2 separate regions of the Homo sapiens genome follow, and region 1 is linked to region 2. Evidence: promoter capture Hi-C in human tissues and cell types (Jung and others, 2019). All regions are on one chromosome and are shown on one strand. The core of a region is centred on a gene start or on the middle of the fragment in contact, and the rest is flanking DNA. Distances in the headings are between cores, read along the strand shown.

Region 1 (5,599 bases), core at 2,435-4,934, 130 kb after region 2:
AAAGTTCTTTAGGGCACTTATGGTAGGTGGTGACTGAGAGACATTTAGGGCCTGCACTTCAGTGACTCTGCCAAGGATATCAGTGCCAGCACCCTATCCACACAAGCTCTGAGGGCTAAGACTCTCAGTAATATCCAGGTAAGGAGGATATGAGGCTGGCTCCCCAGGGACCCACAACCCAAAGCATCTTCTAGGTTCAAGGCAAGATGATTTTGGCAAATCATTTATCTTTTCAGTTTCTTTATCTGTAATCTAAGAATCAGAATACCTACTTCGGTGGGAAGATGTGAGATTTAAAATTAAGTATGCCTGCCGGGCGTGGTGGCTCACGCCTGTAATCCCAACACTTTGGATCACGAAGTCAGATCAAGACTATCCTGGCTAACACAGTGAAACCCCGTCTCTACTAAAAATACAAAAAAATTAGCCGGGCATGGTGGCACGCGCCTGTAGTCCCAGCTACTTGGGAGGCTGAGGCAGGAGAATCACTTGAGCCGGGGAGCCGGAGGTTGCAGTGATCCGAGATCATGCCACTGCACTCCAGCCTGGGCGACAGAGACTCTGTCTCAAAAAAAAAAAAAAAAAATTAAGTATCCCTAGCATTCAGTCAAGAGTTCTCATATCTTTTTCCCCTCCTTTATCTCATCCCTACCTCCCTCTTCTCCTGGCCATTCAAATGCAAAGTCCGATTGAGCAATGAGCCCTGGAGCAGGCCTAGAGGGCCAAATAATCCCATGATGTGAAGAAACTCCATTTCTCTTGCAACCAGGTTTAGATGGTATATATTCCGTAATTTCTGATTTCTGGGTGGCCTTGGAGGCTCGGAATTTTTTTTTTTTCTTTGAGACGGAGTCTCGCTCTGTCATCCAGGCTGGAGTGCAGTGGCGCGATCTCAGCTCACTGCAAGCTCAGCTTCCCGGTTTCACGCCATTCTCCTGGGAGGCTCGGAATGTTTGAAGGAATTTTTATGACTGCTACTCACTGCCTTGAAATGTTTCCCCTGGCTGAGCATTAGTTTACCCTTCTGGGTCACTCAGCATGTTCCTCAGTTTACCTGGCTTTATGTTTTCAAAGTGTTTCCTTCTCTTTACCAGTTGTTTGGTGGCTTTTTTTTTTTTTTTTTTGAGACAGAGTTTCGCTCTTCTTGCCCAGGCTGGAGTGCAATGGCGCGATCTCCGCTCACCGAAACCTCCGTCTCCTGGGTTCAAGCGATTCTTCTGCCTCAACCTCCCCAGTAGCTAGGATTACAGGCTTGCGCCACCATACCCGGCTAATTTTGTATTTTTAGGAGAGATGGGGTTTCTCTGTGTTGGTCAGGCTGGTCTCAAACTCCCGACCTCAAGTGATCCACCCGCCTTGGCCTCCCAAGGTGCTGGGATTACAGGTGTGAGCCACTGCGCCTGGCCTGACGTTTTTTTTTTTTTTTTTAAAGCAACGAGTTCCTTTGTTACTGCTTTTTAAAAATAGAATAGCTTGCCATTTGAGAATTTATTATTTTTATTTATTTTTTTAGAGACGGGGTTTTGCCATGTTGCTCAGGTTGGTCTGAAACTCCTGGCCTCAAGTGATCCTCCCACCTTAGCCCCCCAAAGCACTGGGATTACAGGCCTGAGCCACTGCACCCAGCAAGGTCCTTTGTTCAAAGAAAATCTTATTCAGAAGCCTAATGTGTAAGAGATCAAGGTGGGCCTTGTTTTGGTTTAAGTGAGGACAGCCTGGGCACTGCAGTCTATTCCTTCACATCTCTCTCATGCAGCCTCCCTAACAGCCACATAGTCCCTTCGAAGACTTCTAATGAACCCACATTTCAGATCTTGTTCATTCGTCCCAGCCACTACCTACCTCTCAGCAGCCTGTGACAAAGCAGCCTGGCTTTGTGCTCAGTTACCTCTGCCTGTTCATTAGTATCCTTCAGCAGCTTTTCTTCCTCCGCCCATTACCTAAATGTTGGTGACATCCAAACGTATCTCCTCTCTTGCCTTCCTCATTCTCACTTCAAGGCTCATTGCTTCTGTCTAACTAAGTCCTAAACTGACATCTCCAGACCAGTATCTGCCCTGCACATCAGACTCCAGACTTCCACTGGATGCTGGCCACAGAAAATTTTTTATTAAAAATACATTTTTTCACAGAAGAAAATTCATTAAAAGTCAAGAAAGAGCCCCCAGATGAAATGGCTGACCTTTACTCAGGTGCACATCTGGCCAGTCTTGAGGCTTTAAGACAAACTACGCAGCAGCATTAGAGAAGTAGTAGATTATAATGTGCGGGGAGGGGAGACGGACGTGAGCCTGGAGTCTGAGAGGGGCACTGTACCGTTTTTTCCAACACCCCCAGCTAGGATTCTAGTGGAGTTAGCTATGTCCACCATGGCCTTAGCCTGAAAAATATGGGCATTTAAGACTTCAGCAGGCCACATTTAGCTCAAACAGGAGGATTTTATGACAGCCAAGGTAAAGAAGGGAGATTTAAACATTGTAACAGGTTTCAAGGTGCTAGATTTTTTTTCCCCCAAGAAAACATCTCCAAGTAAAAGTGATATATTTCTATTTGTGGAGAAGATCCTAGTCTTCTCTGTAGTCAATTATGAACAGTGCAGTCTAGAACACTTGATATTCACAAGTGTTGTGTAAAGGTAACTATAGGGCGGATACCTCCTAAGAGAAAAAGATGGTTCCCAGGCTGATGGGCATTTCCATTCCTGCCCTTGGTAGGCTCACAGTGGTTTGTGGGAGTAACCAAGGCCAGAGAGAAATCTAAGGACTAGGTTGGGAGCTATAGGACCCTTGGTCTGTTCATGCTTTGCCTCTGAGAAACCCTGTAGACCCCACATTAAGAAACAGGGAAACTTTAAAGGCCTATAGGCTGGTCTTGGAGATGACAGAGACCTGACCTGCTTTTCCTCCAATTGGAAGGCCAAGGGGGAAGAGAACTGAGGGAAGCTAGGGAAGTAGCAGCAGCTTGAAAGAAGAGACTCTGAAAACACACTAAAACTGGAGAGGCTGGGTGTGGTGGCCCATGCCTGTAATCCTCTCACTTTGGGAGGCCGAGGCAGGAGGATTGCTTGAGGCTGGAGTTCGAGACCAGCCTGGGCAACATAGTGAGATCCTGTCTCTAGAGAGAGAGAGAGAAAAAAAAAAAAAGCTGGGTTCCTGCTTGAGCCCAGTTGTTGAGACTGCAGTGAGCCATGATCATGCCACTCCCCTCTAACCTAGGCAACAGAGTGAGACTCTGTCTCTGAAAGTAAAAAAAATGAAAAGTGGGGAGTGCTAGTGGGAGCCAACTCAACCCAAGTAAAGGCCTAATAGCTCCTCTATGGGTGTTTGCACTGTCTAACAAAGAACTGGACCCTGACAGTCAGAGGACCCATGGTAGGATCATCTAGTGTAGCCCCTTCTTTTACAGAGGGAACCTAGGACTTGGGTTTGGTTCAGTGGTAAGACCTCAAAACCACAAAAGAGCTGGGTCACTCTAGAGAAGCTTTTCTACTTGGCCAATGCCTCTTGGCCCAATTCCCTCTAGGTCTCTGATTTATAAAAGTTTTTGTATGTGTGTCTGTCTGTCCCAAGAGACAGGAAGCATTCCTTTCAGGGAAGGAACCAAATTTCCCTAGGGCTATGATGCTAAATAGTCCATTCTCCCAAGAACAAGTCCTACTCTGTCATTTACCTGCATACTGTCACATGAAGACTGATAAGGGTGGGCCTCCGAGGCTGAGGATGCTGGGGCACCCTTCGTCTCAGGAGTCCCATCCTAGCCAATGAGGATGGGCAAGATGAAGGGAGCAATGGGAAAAAGGACACAGGGATTATCTCATGTTTGAAAAATTATATAGCATGGGAATGTTAGAGAAAGGTGAAACAAACAGCCATCAAATCAGAAGCAGAAGCCTGCTTTAGCTCAGTGTTTTCTTCTTTCCTGAACACTGTCTTTCTTTTTTATTTATTTATTTTTTTTGAGATGGAGTTTTACTCTTGTTGCCCAGGCTAGAGTGCAATGGCGCGATCTCGGCTCATTGCAACCTCTGCCTCCCAGATTCAAGTGATTCTCCCATTTCAGCCTCCCGAGTAGCTGGGATTACAAGCACATACCACCACACCCGGGTAATTTTTATATTTTTAGTAGAGATGGGGTTTCATCATATTGGTCAGGCTGGTCTCAAACTCCTGACCTCAGGTGATCTGCCCACCTCGGCCTTCCAAAGTACTGGGATTACAGGCATAAAGCCACTGCACTTGGACCCTGAGCATTTTCTCTTGCTTTGTTCACTAAGTCTCCTGTATGAGAACCCTGACTTGCCAAACAGATTCTGGGTTGCGTCTCTGCCTTCCCTTTCCTTTACCTCCTCCTTTAACACCTAACACAGGTAGGTTCACGCTGGTAAAAGCTACAAACAATGGCAGTGGGAGGAGTTCCTCTGAGTTTTACTGAAAATTTAGGAGACATCAATTTGTTAACTCTCTATAGGGTCAGAAACATGAACTAAATCTATGGTTCCCAAACCTGGATAATCCTGTCACTCACTAACAACCTACTGGATGGGCCCAGAAATCAGCATTTTATGGAGCTGAAGTGATAGATAACCTCACCAGTCTTCAGATATGCAATGAGGAACTCATGCATAACCTTAAATTCACAGGGCAGTCGGGTTACAGCCTCTTCAAATAAATGACAATTTAAAGTTACCTCCTCCAGGCCGTTTATCATTAATCCCATTTCTTACATGTTCCACCAAACCCCTGACCTCTCTGGTTTCTCAGATTTCCAAGAATCTCTGTTCACTTCTTATGTTTGTGCACTCCCAAGAGAATGGAGGCTCATCTGGAGAAGGAACTAGATTAATCTTCTGCTCTACACTTGAGCTCCTGATTATGGTAAGAAACTCGATAAAAATTTATTGGCAGATCAGAAGATGGATCCTTAGAGGAAGTCTAGTGTAAGAGGTGAAAGAAGATACTTTGGAGTCAGATGGTCTGGGATCCTGGCTGTAGCAAATTAACATTCCTGTCTCTCAATTTTTTTCTTCTGTCAATACCTACCTCAAAAGGTTGTTGAGGGTGAATGAGATGATACCTAGAAATTACTCTGAACAGTGCCTGGAATAGAGTGAGCATCCAGTAAATTGGCTGCTATGACTATTATTAAGAACACCCCAATATTTCCCAGCCACAACTGCCCCAACTGGGCAGGCCATCAACAGCCAACAGGTATGATATGGGGAGTGGTCTTCCATGTACAAAGCTTCTGGTTCCTTTCTTTCTAAGAGATAAATGCAAATGACTCAAGATCTTCTCACAAAGACCATGTACCCATAGATATGGAGTCTCCTGGGGAGAATGATAACCCCTTTGGTACGCTGCAGACATGAGGACCCTACATCAGGAGGTCCTAGCTAGGACAGTCAGTCACCAACCCTGTCACCCTTCGCGTCTACTACATGAAGCATGGGCACAAGAACAACAACCTGGAATTTAAGAACTTTTTTTACTCTGAAAGGAGAGCTAAACAAACCTCTGTTCTCCAAACACAAGATCTCCATCTTCCATGCAGTGAAGAGACCACAGGCTTTGTAAGCAGACCAACTTGAGCTCGTTTTAGA
Region 2 (4,968 bases), core at 1,162-3,661:
ATATTCTCAAGAATATTCATAACATATTCTGTAGTATATTTCCCTACACTAGTGGTTTTCAAAGCATGGTCTCAAATGTCACCTGGGAATATAGACACGCAATGCTCAGGCCCCACCTCAGTCCTATTGAGTTAGAAACTCTGGTGTGAGGCCCAGCAGCCGGTTTCACAAGCCCTGCAGGTGATGATGATGCACTCTAATGTGTGAGAACCACGGCTCTAAATAGTCAAATCATCTTTTTTTTTTTTTTTTTTTTGAGACGGAGTCTCACACTGTTGCCCAAGCTGACTGAAATGCAGCGGTGCAATCTCGGCTCACTGCAGCCTCCACCTCCCGCGTTCAAGCGATTCTCATGCCTCAGCCTCCTGACTGGCTGGGATTACAGGCACCCACTACCACACCCTGCTAATTTTTTTTGTTTTTTTTCAGTAGAGACAGGTTTTGCCATGTTAGCCAGGCCACCGCTCTCGAACTCCTGACCTCAGGTGATCTGCCTGCCTCGGCCTCCCAAAGTGCTAGGATTACAGGCATGAGCCACCGTGCCCAGCCTTTATTTATTTATTTATTTATTTATTTATTTATTTTTATTTTATTTTATTTTTCTGAGATGGTCTCCTTCTGTTGCTCAGGATGGATGGAGTACAGTGGTGCCATCATGGTTCACTGCAGCCTCCACCTCCCAGGCTCAAGAGATCCTCTGACCTCAGCCTCTTAGGTAGCTGGGACAACACGTGTGCACCAGGACAAGCGGGTAATTTTTTGTAGAGACTGGGGTCTCCCTATGTTGCACAAGCTGGTCTAGAACTCCTGGGCTCAAGCGATCCACCGGCCTTGGCCTACCAAAGTGCTATGATTAAAGGTCTTAACATTCTTAAAAAATTTTTTTGACATGGTTTAGGATAGTCTAGTAACTTAACGTACTGTTGTTTTCAACAGGCTAGTGGTTATGATTTGTAAAAGAACTCTTCAGAAATGAGCTCAATTTTACCATGAATTGGGGACACTTTACATTTCTATTTTATAGTGCAGTTTAATTGTCATGGGCTCTGTCTTTTAAAAACCTGAAAGCCTGCAACAATAAAACCAGCTGCACCTGTTGCATGGGATAGGCATGGAATTGAGGAGAGAGCTCAAACTACAGTCAGCCCTCTGTATCCTGAGGTTCTGGATCCTTGGATTTAACCAACTGTGCATCGAAAATATTTGGAAAAAGTAAAACAATAAAAAAACACAGGTCGGGTGCAGTGGCGGGCGCCTGTAGTCCCAGCTACTCGGGAGGCTGAGGCAGGAGAATGGCGTGAACCCGGGTGGCAGAGCTGGCAGCGAGTGGAGATCGCGCCACTGCACTCCAGCCTGGGCAACAGAGCAAGACTCCGTCTCAAAAAAAAAAATTAAAAAACTTTATAACAGCTATTTACAAAGCATTTACGTTGTATTAGGTATTATAGTAATCTAGAGATGATTTAAAGTATACGGAAGGATGTGCACAGGTTATTTGCAAATACTATGCCATATTATATCAGGGACTTGAGTATCTGTGAATTTTGGTATCTCTGGGGTCCTGGAACCAACATCCTGAGGTTACCAAAGGACGACTGTATTCAATTTTGTCTCTGGTTATTAGTCTATTCTCAAATGTATTTTTCTTGTTGTTTTGTCTTTTTGTTTTTGCCTCTTCAAGTCAATGTCGGAAACTTAGTTGTTCTAGACTACCCATTAGCTCAGAGCTACCAGTAATCAGACTACCACTGCAACCTAAGCAACCGATTTTTCTTCCCCATCAGACTGGCAAAAATTAAGATAAGCATCTATTGATGTTGAAGCTGTAGGGAGTTTTCCTGAGCAAGTAATTATGACAGCCCTTTTTGCTAGGCACCTAGATGATTCATCAAAATGAAATAAAATACCCATGCACTTGAAGAAGTTATCTGGTTTATTTCCTTACCTGGGTGCTGGTTATGTGAGGTGTACAGTTGATGAAAACTTATTAAGCTTTATAATAGGTACAATTTTCTGTATGTGTAGTAGACGTCAATAGTTTTTAAAATGTCTTTTGCCACAGCCCGCAGCTGTGAATAATGCTATTCGCTTAACAGTGGAAAACGTGTCAATGACCTGAAACACCCTGGCTCCCGGGATCCTACCCCCTTAAGTTAAACAAATGAAATAACTTCCACTGTCTTTCCTAATGTCTTAATTCGGTCCTCAGTTAAACTGGCGGTTGGCGCCAGTTTTTTCCAGGGAAGGATTCTGGGAGACGGAGGAGGAGACGCCAGCATTTCGCCCCCTGCACCTCCAGCGGGCTGCGGTCCGCTCCCGGCCTCACTCGAGCAGGCCCCGCCCTCCCAGAGGCAGTTAGTCCAAGTCACGTGATCGTCGACTCAGCTGACCCTGCGGGACCGGAAAAAGAAATTCCCGGGCCCTGGCTTCTTGGCGCGATGGTGAGGCACTAGGGGCGAAGCGAGGCTTGGGCTGCTGGAGCGGGAATGAGGGGGCGCCAAGTGGCTCCGGAAACTGGGGGAGGTTGTACTGGCCTCTCCGCAAACACAGTGTGTGCGGGCGTGAGGGCTGTGAGTCTGGTAGGGAAAAGTCCACCACTCTCCCGCTCCCGAGACGGGGGCGGGGGTACGGGGCGGGTAAGACAGAGCAGGCCGGCCGGCTTAGAGTCCCGGTGCTTCCCTGGCGGAAGGAAGGGCCCCTGCCTCCCGGGGCAGGAACTAGGGCTTGTCTGGAGCTGGGAGTCCTTTCAGGTCTTCCCCATCCCCAAGAGGACCTCCCAAGGATACCCCCTTCCCCAGCCCTGCCGTGGGGCTTGTACAAGAAGGTGCTTAGAATCAGGCTCACTCTTCCACACTGTTAGGAAGCCCCTCCGCTCTTTCCAGAGCCAGAAAGTAGTAGTTTTGGGGTTGAGACTTATCCATCCATCCATCCAATCCATCCATCCGTACGTTCTAAGCGCCTGGTCTATACCATGAAGTGTGCTAGGCACTGGGAGGACTTGAGCTGCCAAGGGAAGGGGAAATCGGAGGCTTGAATTGGAGTCATAGCTAAGGCTCCAGGGGCAGAGACCTAACTGCGCCTTGTGTGTAGTGCTAAGGGGGCTTCCTAAGGATGCCATCAAACTTAAAGGCGGATGGATGGCAGGAGCTGGCTGGCTGAAGTACAGTTTGTGTACCAGGGGTAGGGAGGCAAGGGTGGGAGACGTGTGTCTTCAGACAGGGAACAGCATGTGCAGAGACTTCAGGTTAGAGAGAGTATGGCTCCCCAGGAATGGATGCATTTCCCATAGCTGGGAGAGTATCATCTGCAGGTTAGGGAAAGATGAGGCTGGACAAGTAGAGAACAAATCTTCCTGGCTCTTGGATCACCACAATCAAGATAATGAACGTATCCACTGGCCTCCATAATTTCCTTGTGTGAGGGGCTATTTTAAGAAGTATAATCAAGAAAGGCTGTTCTGGCTGGGTGCGGTGGCTCATGCCTGTAATCCTAGCACTTTGGGAGAGTGAAGAGGGTGGATCACCTGAGGTCAGGAGTTCGAGACCAGCATGGCCATGGCACTCCAGCCTGGGCAACAGAGGGAGACTCTGTCTTATTTTTTTATTTTTTAAAAAAAGAAGGGCTGGTCTGATGTGTCACTTAAAGGATAGCAAGCCACTGGCCAGGCGCCGTGGCTCACGCCTGTAATCCCAGCACTTTGGGAGGCTGAGGGGGACGGATCACTTGAGGTCAGGAGTTCAAGACCAGCCTGGCTAACATAGTGAAACTCTGTCTCTACTAAAAATACAAAATTAGCCGAGTGTGGTGGCACATGCCTGTAATCCCAGCTACTTGGGAGGCTGAGGCAGGAGAATCACTTGAACCTGGGAAGCGGAGGTTGCAGTGAGCCGAGGTCGCGCCATTGCACTCCAGCCTGGGGAACAAGAGTGAAACTGTCTCAAAAAAAAAAAAAAAAGGATAGCAAGCCACACAGAGAGTGCAGCAGGCATGGAGGCGGGAGCAAGGCTGGTGTGCCCCAGCAGCAGCAGGGAAGCTGGAGTGGCTGGAGTTGTGTGGGTATGGGGAAGAGGGGAGAGAGTTCACTCGTCTCTGTGAGGCCCAGGACTTTGTTTTATCCCATGCTGTACCCCCAGCACTTAGAGTGGGAGCTAGCACAGAGAAGGTGCTTAATTGATGTTTGCTGAGCAGATGAATGCCTGGAGTAGACCTCAGAGCAGGGTTTGGTGGCAGGGTGGGTCAGGGAGAGAGTTTACTCAACAGCCTGGTGATAGGGGAGAACAAGAGGCCAGAGGGTATCCATCTATGTCGGGGACCAGGGGTCCCTGGTGGGCAGCAGTGTGGGAGACACACGGATCCTGGCCACACCTCAGGCCTCCCTCCAGCCTGATTACCTGCCTCCCTCCCTTGCAGAGGTTCCGGTTCTGTGGTGATCTGGACTGTCCCGACTGGGTCCTGGCAGAAATCAGCACGCTGGCCAAGATGGTTGAGTGCACAGGGTCTAGTCTGGGTGGAGGAGGGGTGTTGGGGGTGGGGATTGTGGGTGTAGAGGATGGTGAGGTTTCTCTGGGGCTAGGGCCTCAGTGCTCTCAGCCTGTGCTACCATGCTTTGTGACCTTGATCAGTGGCTGGCCTGCTCTGAGCCAGTCCCCAGGAAGGAGGGGTGAGGTTTGCCAGCCTGGCTGATGTAAGGACTTCCCTTCCAGTCCTCTGTGAAGTTGCGGCTGCTCTGCAGCCAGGTACTAAAGGAGCTGCTGGGACAGGGGATTGATGTGAGTACAAGATCCAGCACCCCATTGTCCCATGACCTTATGACCACCACTGCCCTGAAACTCTGCACTAGGCCCAGGGAGACGGGTGAGCCAGCCTCTCAACCTCTCTGGGCACCTCCCTTCCTTCTTTCCAGCCTGTCTGTTCCTTATCGCAGGATCCAGGCTGGGGGTGAGGGGCTGGTGAGCAGGGGCCTGGCAC

The links. Contacts are between HindIII fragments. The study calls those that stand out against the background at their distance.
Region 1: a fragment that was not itself captured here is called in contact with the fragment with the promoter of COMMD4 in region 2 in 3 of the 25 tissues and cell types used here (bladder, pancreas and psoas muscle).

What each region holds. Positions count from the first base shown.
Region 1 is chr15:75,461,164-75,466,762 of GRCh38, forward strand. It overlaps PTPN9 (protein tyrosine phosphatase non-receptor type 9), which reads right to left. Exons shown (of 13, transcript NM_002833.4): 13 at 2,088-5,599. Among named protein-coding and RNA genes, the nearest start is that of SIN3A, 12 kb to the left of the region's middle. The HindIII fragment of the contact is 4,221 bases long and covers 1,575-5,599 here.
Region 2 is chr15:75,333,652-75,338,619 of GRCh38, forward strand. COMMD4 (COMM domain containing 4) reads left to right here and starts at 2,412. Exons shown (of 8, transcript NM_017828.5): 1 at 2,412-2,441; 2 at 4,411-4,482; 3 at 4,704-4,769. The coding sequence starts at 2,439. RefSeq lists enhancers at 2,246-2,295, 2,636-2,805. The HindIII fragment of the contact is 27,503 bases long and covers 1-4,968 here.